Regions from separate parts of the Homo sapiens genome. Here all the other regions are linked to region 3. The links are contacts of gene promoters, found by promoter capture Hi-C in blood cells and fetal thymus (Javierre and others, 2016). All regions are on one chromosome and are shown on one strand. Each heading gives the region's core, a stretch centred on a gene start or on the middle of the fragment in contact. The rest is flanking DNA. Distances are from core to core; before and after follow the strand shown.

The links. The method cuts DNA at HindIII sites, captures the fragments that hold promoters and counts their contacts. A CHiCAGO score of 5 or more calls a contact.
Region 1: a contact is called between a fragment that was not itself captured here and the fragment with the promoter of GUCY1A2 in region 3, in 1 of 17 cell types (endothelial precursors). The highest score is 10.5, in endothelial precursors.
Region 2: a contact is called between a fragment that was not itself captured here and the fragment with the promoter of GUCY1A2 in region 3, in 1 of 17 cell types (megakaryocytes). The highest score is 8.5, in megakaryocytes.
Region 4: a fragment that was not itself captured here is called in contact with the fragment with the promoter of GUCY1A2 in region 3 in 2 of 17 cell types (megakaryocytes and endothelial precursors); the score reaches 8.7 in megakaryocytes.

Annotation. Positions count from the first base shown.
Region 1 is chr11:106,149,377-106,152,373 of GRCh38, reverse strand. No RefSeq gene overlaps it. Among named protein-coding and RNA genes, the nearest start is that of LINC02719, 19 kb to the right of the region's middle. The HindIII fragment of the contact is 5,904 bases long and covers 1-2,997 here.
Region 2 is chr11:106,306,928-106,309,894 of GRCh38, reverse strand. No RefSeq gene overlaps it. Among named protein-coding and RNA genes, the nearest start is that of LINC02719, 180 kb to the right of the region's middle. The HindIII fragment of the contact is 1,792 bases long and covers 744-2,535 here.
Region 3 is chr11:107,017,165-107,020,168 of GRCh38, reverse strand. GUCY1A2 (guanylate cyclase 1 soluble subunit alpha 2) reads left to right here and starts at 1,693. Exons shown (of 8, transcript NM_000855.3): 1 at 1,693-2,416. The coding sequence starts at 2,114. RefSeq lists a silencer at 2,170-2,299. The HindIII fragment of the contact is 2,566 bases long and covers 680-3,004 here.
Region 4 is chr11:106,085,264-106,088,442 of GRCh38, reverse strand. The region is part of intron 2 of AASDHPPT (aminoadipate-semialdehyde dehydrogenase-phosphopantetheinyl transferase); the gene reads right to left. Among named protein-coding and RNA genes, the nearest start is that of AASDHPPT, 9.2 kb to the right of the region's middle. The HindIII fragment of the contact is 1,278 bases long and covers 1,235-2,512 here.

The sequences.
Region 1 (2,997 bases), core at 35-2,534, 870 kb after region 3:
TAAGGCAGAAATTCCTGGTGGCTCCACCCTATTCCCCGAGTGCCCATGCAGACCCTTAGTCTGAGCCACTCCATACTGATTTAATTTCCTTATTGCTCATGTGTTAATGGATGGAATTTTTCACTGTAGGCATGTTTATGCAAGCTCCCACGCACAGTGATGTGGGCAGGTTGGAGGTTCTCCAGGGACCTTTCCCTATTTGCCTAGGCATTTGGCTGTTTCCTGCCTCTATCACCTTGAAATTGTGACAGACTGAAACTGCTTAGCTCTCCCTAGTGGTTAAAATGTATGATCAGACTAATTACTGGAAAAAGCAGTTTGATTAACTGATTAAGTCTATTTGAGGAAAAATTAAAATCCAGGACCGAAATATTGACACAATGGCAAGAAAACAGATCAGCTAATGAAAAGCCTTGATCTTAATTATCTAGTACAATAAAAAGTAACGCCTGAGAAGGACAGTTGTACTATTTCTTCCTCAGGCTCAAATCTGATCTTTTTTCGTAATAAAATCTCACATTTTCCCAAAATGTTTAGCCTTTTCTTGGTATTTATTTATCTCTAGTTGTTCAACAGATGAAATATATATATTTAATATATACTATTATTATAAATATATTATTGCTTTAAATATAATAAATATATGTGAAATATATATATCATGAAATATGTGAAATATATCTGTTGATGAAATATATATATATTTTCTAGATGAATACTAATACATATTGAATAGAAGAAAGAGACATCTGTATACTTCCATAGAGCACATTATCCTAAAAATATCACTTGGTATTGTATGATAAATAGCATTTTATTAATATTTATACTAATAGAAAATGATTTTAGCTTTTTATATTTTTTCTTTATAAAATCAAAATATATGACTTCATATTTTTATTTGATCAAAATTTGACTTCTTTCCCGCTCTGTGATTCATAGCTCTTGACAGATAAGAGGTTCTCAATGGTTGGTGTATGTACTGCCCCATTTACAATGGCAGTTTTCATTAAAAATTATAAATGAGGATATAAAATGTCTTAAAAGCATCATTTGAATAATAGGATCAAATACATTGCTAAGATATCAGCTGTTACAGTTTTTATGCTAAAAAACAGAATATCATTTAACATAGTTGTTAGCACAGCATTCACCTTAACTAGACAGTATTCTCTTCACCACTGTCTCTTCTCCTCTCTGGTCAAGGGGATATCACAATGCCCCCATAGCAAAATAAAAAATGTTTGATTCTGACACCTGTGTTCCTCTCTTCTAACACTAATCTTGCATGTGGCTAAGATTTAATACAAAACTAGCCCAATAGTGTTCCTTTTGCCAATCCCAATATTAATTTTCAAAAGCACATTTTAATCTAAAGTGGCATGCTGGAGCCACTTCATGATACAGTGAGCACTGGCTGTGTATGGAAGCTAACTATCTCAACTATGCAAATGAAGCTGTAGCATCTGTAATTAGAAGGGATCTCACTGTAAATCATTTGACGTGAATAAGCATCTTCATTGCACTTCAGGAAAGGCTTTTTAATTAACAAGGTCTAATAATTTTAAAGGCTTAATGAACAATTACACTAAAACCAATGATAGCACCAAAATGATTCATAATAATTTACTGTTTTTTTTCCTCAGATGTGATTTCTAATTATAGTGTAGGCAGGATCATGATTGAGTTTCTACCCTTATCAATATACCATTTTCATTACAAAATGAATCCTCCCACTGCCTAATGATATGCATTCTAACTAATGGGAAGGAGAAAGACGAAAAAAACTTACATTTATTAAATATCAGTAATATAAAAGTTTTCTTATACATTAACTTACCACACACACACATGAAATATGAGGAAATGCATATATGTTCAAAAACTTCTCCAAAGGTTACAGAGATAACAAGTGAAAGAATTTGGGTTGAACACAGACTTAACAGACTTTAGGTCTAACACCCTTTCCACTATATTACATTGTCTCTTATTTTTATAATATTGTAGTTATGTATTGTTATTAATTCAACATCCAAAACTAGTACTTTAACTTCCATTTCTATTTCTGCATTTTGATAGAGAATTGACTCTCATTTTTAATTTAAGGTGATTTTATTTGTTTCCAATGAAAGACACTCTTTATTTAGTATGTCATATGAATTTTGGATGTTCAGCTAATTTATATATAAAAAACATTTGTTGATAGCTACCTATTTCTGTTAAAATTATTGCTGTCTTCATGACATCCATGACTTCTGCTCATCGTCTGCACAAAAAGGTCAATATGGCTTTCCTGTGTCCCCTAATAACACTCACCATTGTCTCGTGAATTCTGAAACTTCTGTATTCACTGAAGTTTTTCTCCATTCACTGCCAAGCTAGTTCATTAGCTTGTCCTATAAGCAAACAGGTTTCAGCATTTCAAAGATTTTCTAAACACAATGCAAATATGTAGATGTGGTACACTTTTCCTGGGAACTCAAGAGCAGAATGTAGTAGCAATTCTTAGCCCAGATAGCCAATGTCTTTGGGTTTTTTCACCATATCTTATCTGTTTTATTCACCATATTATTAGTTGAATGAATTGAATCCATGACTGAGGACCCTCATTTGTTCTTGACTTTTCAATTAAAAGATTTGTATTATAAAACCAAACTACCAGAAATCCCAAAATACGTAGTAATGACCTATTCGAATTGATAATGTAGAATTGGCCCCTCTCTTAATTTAAATCTTCCAAACTATGATGATCTGAACAATAAGCAAATAAATAAAATTTTCATTGTTTATTCTGCCCTTAATGGAAACTTATTTAATATCAGTAAAATTAGATCTGAACCTGTAAGGTAATAAATAAATAACTGGACAATAAACATAAGGAAATATTATCTTCCAACCACATTCACATCCCCATGCCAAGCACAAATGTGTCAGTTGGGAAATCTAATCTCTCCTGGGGACTAAGGTCATCAAACGTTGTGAGCTCCATTAAAGGCT
Region 2 (2,967 bases), core at 390-2,889, 710 kb after region 3:
ATACTTTTATTGGATATATAAAGTGCTAGTGAGGATGTGGAAGACTAGGATGCTCATTCACTGCTGGTGGTGATATGTAATGGTTTGCCCACTTTAGAAAACATGCACTTACCATATAAGCAGAAATATCACTGTTAGGTATTTACCCAAGAGAATTAAAACATATATTCACACAGAGACTGTATACAATTTTTTATAGCAGTCATATTCATAATAGCCCAAAACTGCAAACAACCAGAATATCCATCAACTGATGAATGAATTGTTGTATATCTATATAAGAAATACTACCCATAAATAAAACAGTAATAAACTACCGATAAATTCAACAGGATGTTTAAACCTCAAAAGCATTATGCAACATGAAAGAAGCCAGATACAAAAGTGCTACAATGTATAAGACTCTCCGGAAAAGGAAAAGTTCTGGCTCTCATCAGCACTGATTGGCATAATCTTAGTTGCTCTTTATTATATGGAGGAAGACTCTTTTCATTATTTTTGTTAGATTTGTGAAAACCAAAGGGAAAAAATTATAGGGAGAGAAATTGAGTAATTGCCAGGAGCTGGGGTTAGGGGCAGGAAATTGATTGAAAAGAGGAACAGGGAGACTTCTTGAGGTTAGGGAAATATTCTTTATCTTGATTGTGGTAGTGGTTAGAGAACTACATACATTTGTCAAAACTCATTAAACTGTATTCTTTAAAAGAATGAATTTGACTGTGCAAATTTTGTCAAAATAAGCTTGATTTTTAAAAAGTATTAAAAACAGTGGTCTTAAATGAAGACCATGGAATTGCTGCAATAGATAATATTAAATCAACATTTTCAAAAATAGAAGGTATACTCAATCACTATGTCCTAACCAAAAAATATTACTGATGACATTTTAATTCATCCTTTTTCAATTTCTCTTGTGTGTATGCCTATATAATATATATTATCATGTAATAGAATATATTAACACATCAGTACATGTGTATAATTTACACATAAATAACTGGACATGTAAAAGATATGCATGCAAAAATTTTGTTTAAACTTAAGGCAGGCACACTCAGACATTTTGGATATCCCTCATATAGTTACTTCTAATTTTATTTTAATAAATAATTCTCAAATTAGTATCTCTGTGCTTGGAGCTTTTATCATCATTTTGGATTTTTTTTTTAAGAAAGAATGACAAAATTTGAATTAATGTGTCAAAGTTTATCTGTCTCATGAAATATATAGATTCAATTATTTTTCAAAGTTCTTGAACCAGTTTACATTGACACAAACAATTAATGAAAGTGCCTGTTTCATCGTATACTCTTGTCAGCACTGATTGACATAATCTTAGTTGTTCTTTATTATATTGTGGAAAACTATTATTTTTGTTATATTTTAAAAAATAGTAAATTACTTTTAGCAAATGTCTTTTAGCAAACTATTAAAGTCTTATAAATCTGGCTTTCCCTATTGATATAGTATATTATGTGCATTGATGTTCTTACATTAAACCATCTTTACAATACTGAATAGAATGTACAATTTCAAATGCCTGCTGGCAAAGCTGGCCCAGTAATTTTTAGTTGGTAATGACTAATCATAGCCTTCGCAGGAAACTCCTAACTACCTCTCCTTCCAGAACCCAGACTTTTAATAAATTTGTTGCCTCATCCTTAGAGCTATTTACCTTCCCTCATTCTCTCAGATACCTGCCTATATTTCTTCACAAAGTTATTATTTTTATAGTAAGTCAGTTTCTTTACCATCTTGAAAACAGTTGCATGGTCTCCATGTTTTGGATACTCTGAGCAGGATTTCACTGAGACTCTGTCCAATGCAATCTTCCGGAACAGAACAACTTTCCCTTCCAAGATTTCAGGCCTCTTACTTAAACCTCGAGCTTTTATTGAGCCCTGTAAGTGTGGTGATCAACCACCCATTGAGTAGTGCAGCCAAAATTACAGTTTTTATCAAGGAGTGCAGAGATGCTATCTAAATATGTTTTATCATCCTTTCTACCCATCTGAGGGGAGCTTTAATGTACACAACAGAGCCAAATGGAAATATACTACAGCATGACTTAACAACTCTTCGCCATTTTAAAGACTGAAAACAAACAGCAGCACCACAGAAATAAATAAAATAAATAAATAAATAAATAAGCTAACCAATAAGGAAAATCATTTTCGGTACTTAACACTGAATAAATCTTGTTAAGATCCTCAGACTGACATTTATTGAAACAGTTCTTTGAAGCCAACAACACAAAGCAGCCAATAGTGGTTAAACAATGCTTTTTATTTCCCCAGGGTTGGAAATCTGGAATTCTCAATTCCGATTATATATCAAAACAATGTATACAGCTTTTACAGGTATACTCGGGCCCAACACTCAGGTGATTTCTTTAGTAAGTCTGGAATGAGGATTATGCATCTGCATTTTTAATAAGCTGCAGGTATGATTCTGATGCTTAGTCAAGATGTTAAATTATTGGTTTAAATTCTGGGGATCAGATGGGCTTGGAAAAACAATTCTTTCCAGAAAGCTTAATACAAAAAAATTTCTAAATTCTACAAGTACCAGAGCTTTTAGGCAGCTAATCAATTTATGCCTTGATAAGACAAATAGACCCTTTTGCCAAGGGTTAACAATCTTGATACAATTCCCAGAGTTATTCTGTACAGGATCAACATATGTATTAGGTAACCTGAGGATCAGAGATTGTCTGTGGACATTATCTGTCCTGCCTGCCCTCTGCTGGCATGAAGCTGGACAATTGACAGAATGTGCACTTAGCTTGACAAGGCAGTCATTTTCATGGAAGAAATGTTTTGGTTCATGCCAGGCATAGTAGTATTTGGAAGGCCTAGAAATAACATATAAAATGACTTGGAGATTCTGGAGAGTGAAATAATCTCAAGTTTTTTTAAACCCATCTGTTCAGCTGTGCACTTCTTCAAGTCAGAGATGCTTGACCTC
Region 3 (3,004 bases), core at 444-2,943:
GAGAAAGAATACATATATATAAGAATATATATTATATATATTCTTTCTCATATGTATATGTATATACATATACATATATATACACACACATATATATATATATATATATATATATATAATTTGAAGGGGGAGTGTCTGAGTGATAGTACACACTTTTCTATCTTTAAAGCCCATTTAAGATCTGGGGAAAAAGGTATGTCTCTGAACCAGTTTGAGTGGATTTTTCCAAATGAAACCTCAAATAGCATTTATATTTAAGCCCTAACAAACACTTGGGAAGATTTGAAGTTAAAAGCAAATTGTGGTGGGGGTACAGCACAGGTTTTGTGGTTTGGTTTTGTTTTGCTTTTTAAATAAACACAGTCCACAAAAACCCATCTGCCTTCACCTGGAAGGACCAGTTCTTTAATTAAAAAAACGCTTTGGCTTCGGTTTCACTGGGAAACTAAAGCCAGAGCCCCTAAACTTTTCTCTCCGCAGATCGGGTGAGCTGGGGAGGGTGCTCATCCACTTCATTGCAGGGGGAAGTACAGCCTGGAACCCCTTTCGGGATACTGTCATTTGCCCCTTCTTCCCATCTCTTACTCTATCCTCAGAACCAGTATGAGAGTTTTCTGGGGCTAAGGCAAGGGGCAGTGGGGTCAGGCGCTGGAAGGACTGGTTTGCAAAGAGATAAGCTTTGGAATGAAGCCGCACAGCTGAAAACTCGCGGCAAGACATGCTCGCGCTGTGGCGAGTCAGTTCGAGAAGCATTTATCCCTACTCCCCTTAGCTTTCTGAGCAGCATTTGCAGTCAGGTGCAAACAGATCGCATATTTGGCGCAAAGAGCCCTGAGGATGAGGGACGTGGGATCATTCCCCGGTTTCCCCCGGGCCAGGTGCTAGGTCGTTTGAGGAGGAACTGTTCTCCAGTTCTCAACGCCTGCAAAGGCGGCTATAGGTGGCAAGCGGAGCTGTCCAGCACTAGTGAGGAGCCAGCGGAGCCGGGAGCCCCGCGCACCCCGCCCGGCTGAGGCTCAGCAACAGTGCTGTCTTGTCAGAGCAGACGCTGTCCTCACTGCCGCCCCTTTCTGGGCTCGCTCCGCGCCCACACGGCCTCGCACGAGGCGGGGAACACAAGTCCCCAGGAGCTGCTCCAGCAGGATGGGCGCCAAAATGTTGCCCCTGTCCTTCCCTTCCCCTGAAAGCGTCTCCTCTGGAGTGGGCTGGCTGGACGCTTGGCCTTTCCCTTTTGCCTCGGAACTTCCTAAATAAACTCGGAGAAAGGACAACATGGACCCTAACCCCCACTTCACACTGTCAGGTTTCCCCAAGGTGGCTCCAGGGGGAGGCCTCTCGCCCCCCAGCCCCGAGCCCTTCTCCCCACCAGCGCCGCCGGGACCCATCTGCTCCCGAGGGCCGAGGATAAGGCGTTTGGGGTTGGGGCCCTCAGTCCGACCCGAGCTCCTGTGCGCACCTCCTCGGAGCAGGGAGGGCGCGCAGAGGACAGCAACGAAGTGTCCTCGTTGCTCCTGAAACGTGGCGACAGGCGAGGCAGAGACTCCCAATGAGTATGATGGCGACACGTGATTCCCGCGGAGGGAGAGCATGGGGGGGGGCGGGGGGATAAAGGGAGAAGGAGGGAGGCAGGGCAGCAAGTGGAGAGAGGCGGGAGCAGAGAGGGAAAGGGGGCGAGATAGGCGCGCAGGCGGCAGAAGCCTCTGCCTCTGCCTCCCCTTCTGCTTGGGCCGCAGCCCTCCCCGCCCCGCCGACCGCGGTCACACACTCTCGGAGCCTCCCCGTGAGCGGGAGCGCGGCGCACGGCGATGCGCCGAGGCGGGCGCTGAGGCGGCGCCGCGCGAGCAGCAGCAGAGGCGGCGGCGGCCCCCAGCCCAGCCCGGCGCCGCCGCCGAGCCCGGGCCCCAAGGTGCGGCGGCGCCCCAAGTTCCCGCCATGAGCAGCCGGCTCGGGGGGCTCCGCGGCCCCGGGGACTCCCGCCCCGCCGGGCGCGACCGCAGCGCCCCGCGGCCCCGACGCGCTTAACGTTGTCGCTTGCCGGTCCCGCCACCGCCGCCTCCGCCGCCGCTCGCGTCCTCGCCGCCACCGCCTCGGCCGCTGCAGCTCCGCCGGCAGCATGTCTCGAAGGAAGATTTCGTCCGAGTCCTTCAGCTCCCTGGGCTCCGACTACCTGGAGACCAGCCCGGAGGAGGAGGGGGAGTGCCCCCTGTCTAGGCTCTGCTGGAATGGCAGCCGGAGCCCGCCCGGGCCGCTGGAGCCCAGCCCGGCCGCAGCTGCCGCTGCCGCCGCCCCGGCCCCGACCCCGGCTGCTTCTGCCGCCGCCGCCGCTGCCACTGCCGGGGCCAGGAGGGTGCAGCGCCGGAGGCGGGTCAACCTGGACTCGCTGGGCGAGAGCATCAGCCGCCTGACGGCGCCCTCGGTGAGCGGGGGGCGGAAGGGGGGACCGCCTTCGGGGGAGAGAACGCGGATCTGTAAAGTTGGCGCTGGGCGAGCCGGGGCGCGAGCGCAGAGCCCGACCGCTGGGGGGCGGCCCGGCCTTACCCTGCACGGCCTAGGGTTCCAGTGGCTCCGGCGACAGAGGATCCCCTAGGCTAGGGCGGAAGAGGGGACTACAGCACTGGGAAGGAATAAGATTCCACTCCTTTGGGGTATCCTGATTCGGGGGCCTGTCTGCCCACCTCTAGCCTTGAACCCTACTTCACCACTGTTCCCCCTGGACAGCCCCAGTGCTGCTTCACACCCACCTGTTTTCTTTCCCCTAAACTTTCCCAGGCACTGTGTTCTGCAGTTCAGCTTCCCTGTCTTTCATCCTGTTCTCCAGCATCCCAAAGGAGCCCCAACCCCTTCCAGGAAACCCTTCCTCTCCTTATTTCCCACACTCTCTTGGTCTTAGCGTGACCTTCTCTGACATCTTTGAATTCCACAGGCTATCTGCATTCTATGTTGCATCCTTTTTCTCACATCTTCAGATACTTTTTGCCAGATACTTTTCTGAGTTGCCTTCTGT
Region 4 (3,179 bases), core at 624-3,123, 930 kb after region 3:
TTATATATTTTGAGTGAAACTGTAGTTTTAACAGATTAATGTCCAAAAAATCTGCATTTAAAAAGATACGCATTTTGTCATCTATAGTGTCATTCTGCTTGCTGCTTTCTTCAAATTTTATTTTTATAACCTCCAAGAAGCCTTCTGATTTTTAACTAAATAAGATGGGGCAATCAAGGAAAAAAATTTAAATAAGCATGCTATTAAAAAACTGATTAACATAAAAGGCAATCAATCTGGCACAATCACTAGAAAGCAATCACATAACTCATTATGTACAGCCAAAAAATATCCGATACGAGTGCGTTTTCATATACTTTAGAGCATCTTATTTAGTCCACAAAATAAAAAATTTGACAGCAATAGGAAAAGGTGATTTCGTAAATATTCGGCCAAAGCACAGCAGCGCCACACTGTGGCATTATGGTGGATATACAGTGGGCAAATATTGTGTTAAGTATTAAGTGCAGTTTACCTAGGAAACTGGAATAAAGAAAAATCGGTAGGAAGAACAGTGAATTTGTCCCTTAAACTATTTGAAGACAGCACAATTACTGCACATACGTTGGCAAGTTCTAATAATACCATTACATACACAGAGAATCATCAGTCAAATTTAGAAAAACCTGATCTTCCATCTTATAGCTTGATCATTAGGGAGAGCAGTGTTAGATATTGTATTCTGGAATGATTAACTAATCAAGACCACCCAGCAACTAATGTTTTATTTTAAACACAGTAGTAACATACAACAAAATCATTTAGATCCAATGCCTTGAGCAACTATTTCAGGCCTACGGAAAAAAATCCAGAACCTCAGGGCCTACGACATTAATCCCTCTCCAAAACAAGGTCACCAATATGTATACACAAATATATACATATAACTACCTCAGCCTTTAGGAAAATGGGCTGGTCATTTTTGAGGGAAGTGGAAGGGAGTTAAGCAATGCCCATCTACGTGCTTGCTTCAAAGTACCAAAATTTAGCCTTAGATAATAAATCATATTAGAAATTGTAATAGTTTCACTTTCTAAGTACTAAACTGTATATAATAGAATTATATATAATTTTGCTTCTATGAGAAGTGACAGTCTTCTAAGATATGAGTTAGTATGTACACCGTAATGCTTATCAGCTCATTTGTCCAGGAACTTATCCAGACAAAAACCTAGAATAACACAAAAATATCTGAGCTGCCAATATAGGTTTCACAAACTACATGCACAAAGCTTCTTGCATGTTACTATCAAAGGATGTATTTAAGCCCTCAATTTGTGGAGTACAGCAGAAAAAGCACTAGATTGAAATAACGTCAACCTAGGTTTGAAACTCACCATTTAGGCAGTCCTAAACTTCAGTTGCTCTTACATTGTTTACCAACACATATAGGTATTAACACACAGAGGCAAGAAACAGGCTGATAGAGCTAGAACTACTGGGCTGCGAATGTTATCCTTTCAGGAAGAACTCCAGAGAATGAAGAAGAGGACCAAGAGGACAGAGCATGAAGCCTTTTATTTTCAGGCTTTGAAACCTAATGAATTTACTCTGCTGGGTTTGGAACATGTTTGAGAACAATGACCCCTTTTTACTTCGAACTTCTTTTTGGAATGGGAATGTCTATCCTATGCCTCTCCTACCACTGATTTTTAGAAGACTTGTTTTCTGCTTTCACAAGTCCACAGATGAGAGGAATTTTGCCCCAAGAAGGATCATACTCCAGTTTCACACATAGCTGATTTAGATGATTGAGATGAGATCTGCCACTTTTTGGGTTGATGATATTAACACTTACATGAGATTTAGAGTTAATGCTGGAATGGGCTGAGAATTGCTAATGCTGGGATGGGGTGAATTTACTTTGTATGTTAGATGGATATAAATTTTGCAGGGGGCCAGAGAATGGACTCTACTGGGTTGAAGGGTGTCTCCTGAAATTCATGTCCACCCAGAACCTTAGAATGTGACCTTATTTGGAAATAGAGTCTTTATAGATGTAATCAAGTTAAGATCAGGTCATACCTAATTAAAGTGAGCCCTGAATCCAATGCCTGGTTTCCTTACAAGGAGAGACAGACACACAGAGAGGAGACAGAAAAGGTCATTTGAAGGTGAAGGCAAAAATTGGAGTGATGCAACTGCAAGCCAAGGACTGCTAGGAATGAGCAGAAACTAGGAAGAAGCAAGGAAGGATTCTTTCTTAGAACCTTCAGAGAGACCATGGCCCTGCTGACACCTTAACTTCCAGCCTTCCAGAACTTACAGAAGAGCTTTCGGTCACTTTAAGACACCATGTTTGAGGTACTTTGTTAAGCAGCCTGAAGAAACTAATATACACATGGATACAATTTAAATTATACATAAGCACACACATTCGCGTACCCTTCGGAGTTTTAATTCTATGTCCCTGCAGTCAAATGTTCAAATGCTGGTCCATCACTTCTTAGCTAGAGATTGAGGATCCCTAATCTGAAAACCTGAAATCCAAAATGCTATAAAACTCAAAGCTTTTTGAGCATCAAAATTATACTCAAAGGAAAAACTCAGTGGAGCACTGTGGATTTCCCACTAGGGATACTCAACCTGTGGGTTATTTATTTAACATTTACTTAACATCTCTATGGCTGTTTCTCAAACTGTAAAATTGGGACAAAGAATTGGGCAGATTAAGAATAAACATGTAAAATGCCTGGAACTATCAAGTACTTAATAAATATTAGCTCTGAGGTTGTTGTCAAAGTCATGGTTAAATGTGTATCTTCTTTTGTCAACTGTTTTTATAAAGTCCTTCCTATATTCATCAAGTAAGGCTTAAGTGGTTTTCCCATCGATATTTAGAGGGGCATTTCATATCTTAACAACATTAACCTTTGTCTGTCAAATTTGCCACCAATATATTCTCTGGTTTGTGAAAGATGATTTAATATGAAATCATATCTGTTGACTTAGTGGTTTATTATTTTAAGCTTCAAAAGCCATCTTTCAGAAGTTTGCTCAAATATACAATTACATTGTGTTCTAGTAAGTGTTAATAAAACTGGCCAGGCGCAGTGGCTCACGCCTGTAATCCCAGCACTTTGGGAGGCCGAGGCGGGTAGATCACGAGGTCAGGAGATCAAGACCACCCTGGCTAACACAGTGAAACCCCATCTCTACTAAAAATACAAAAAATTAGC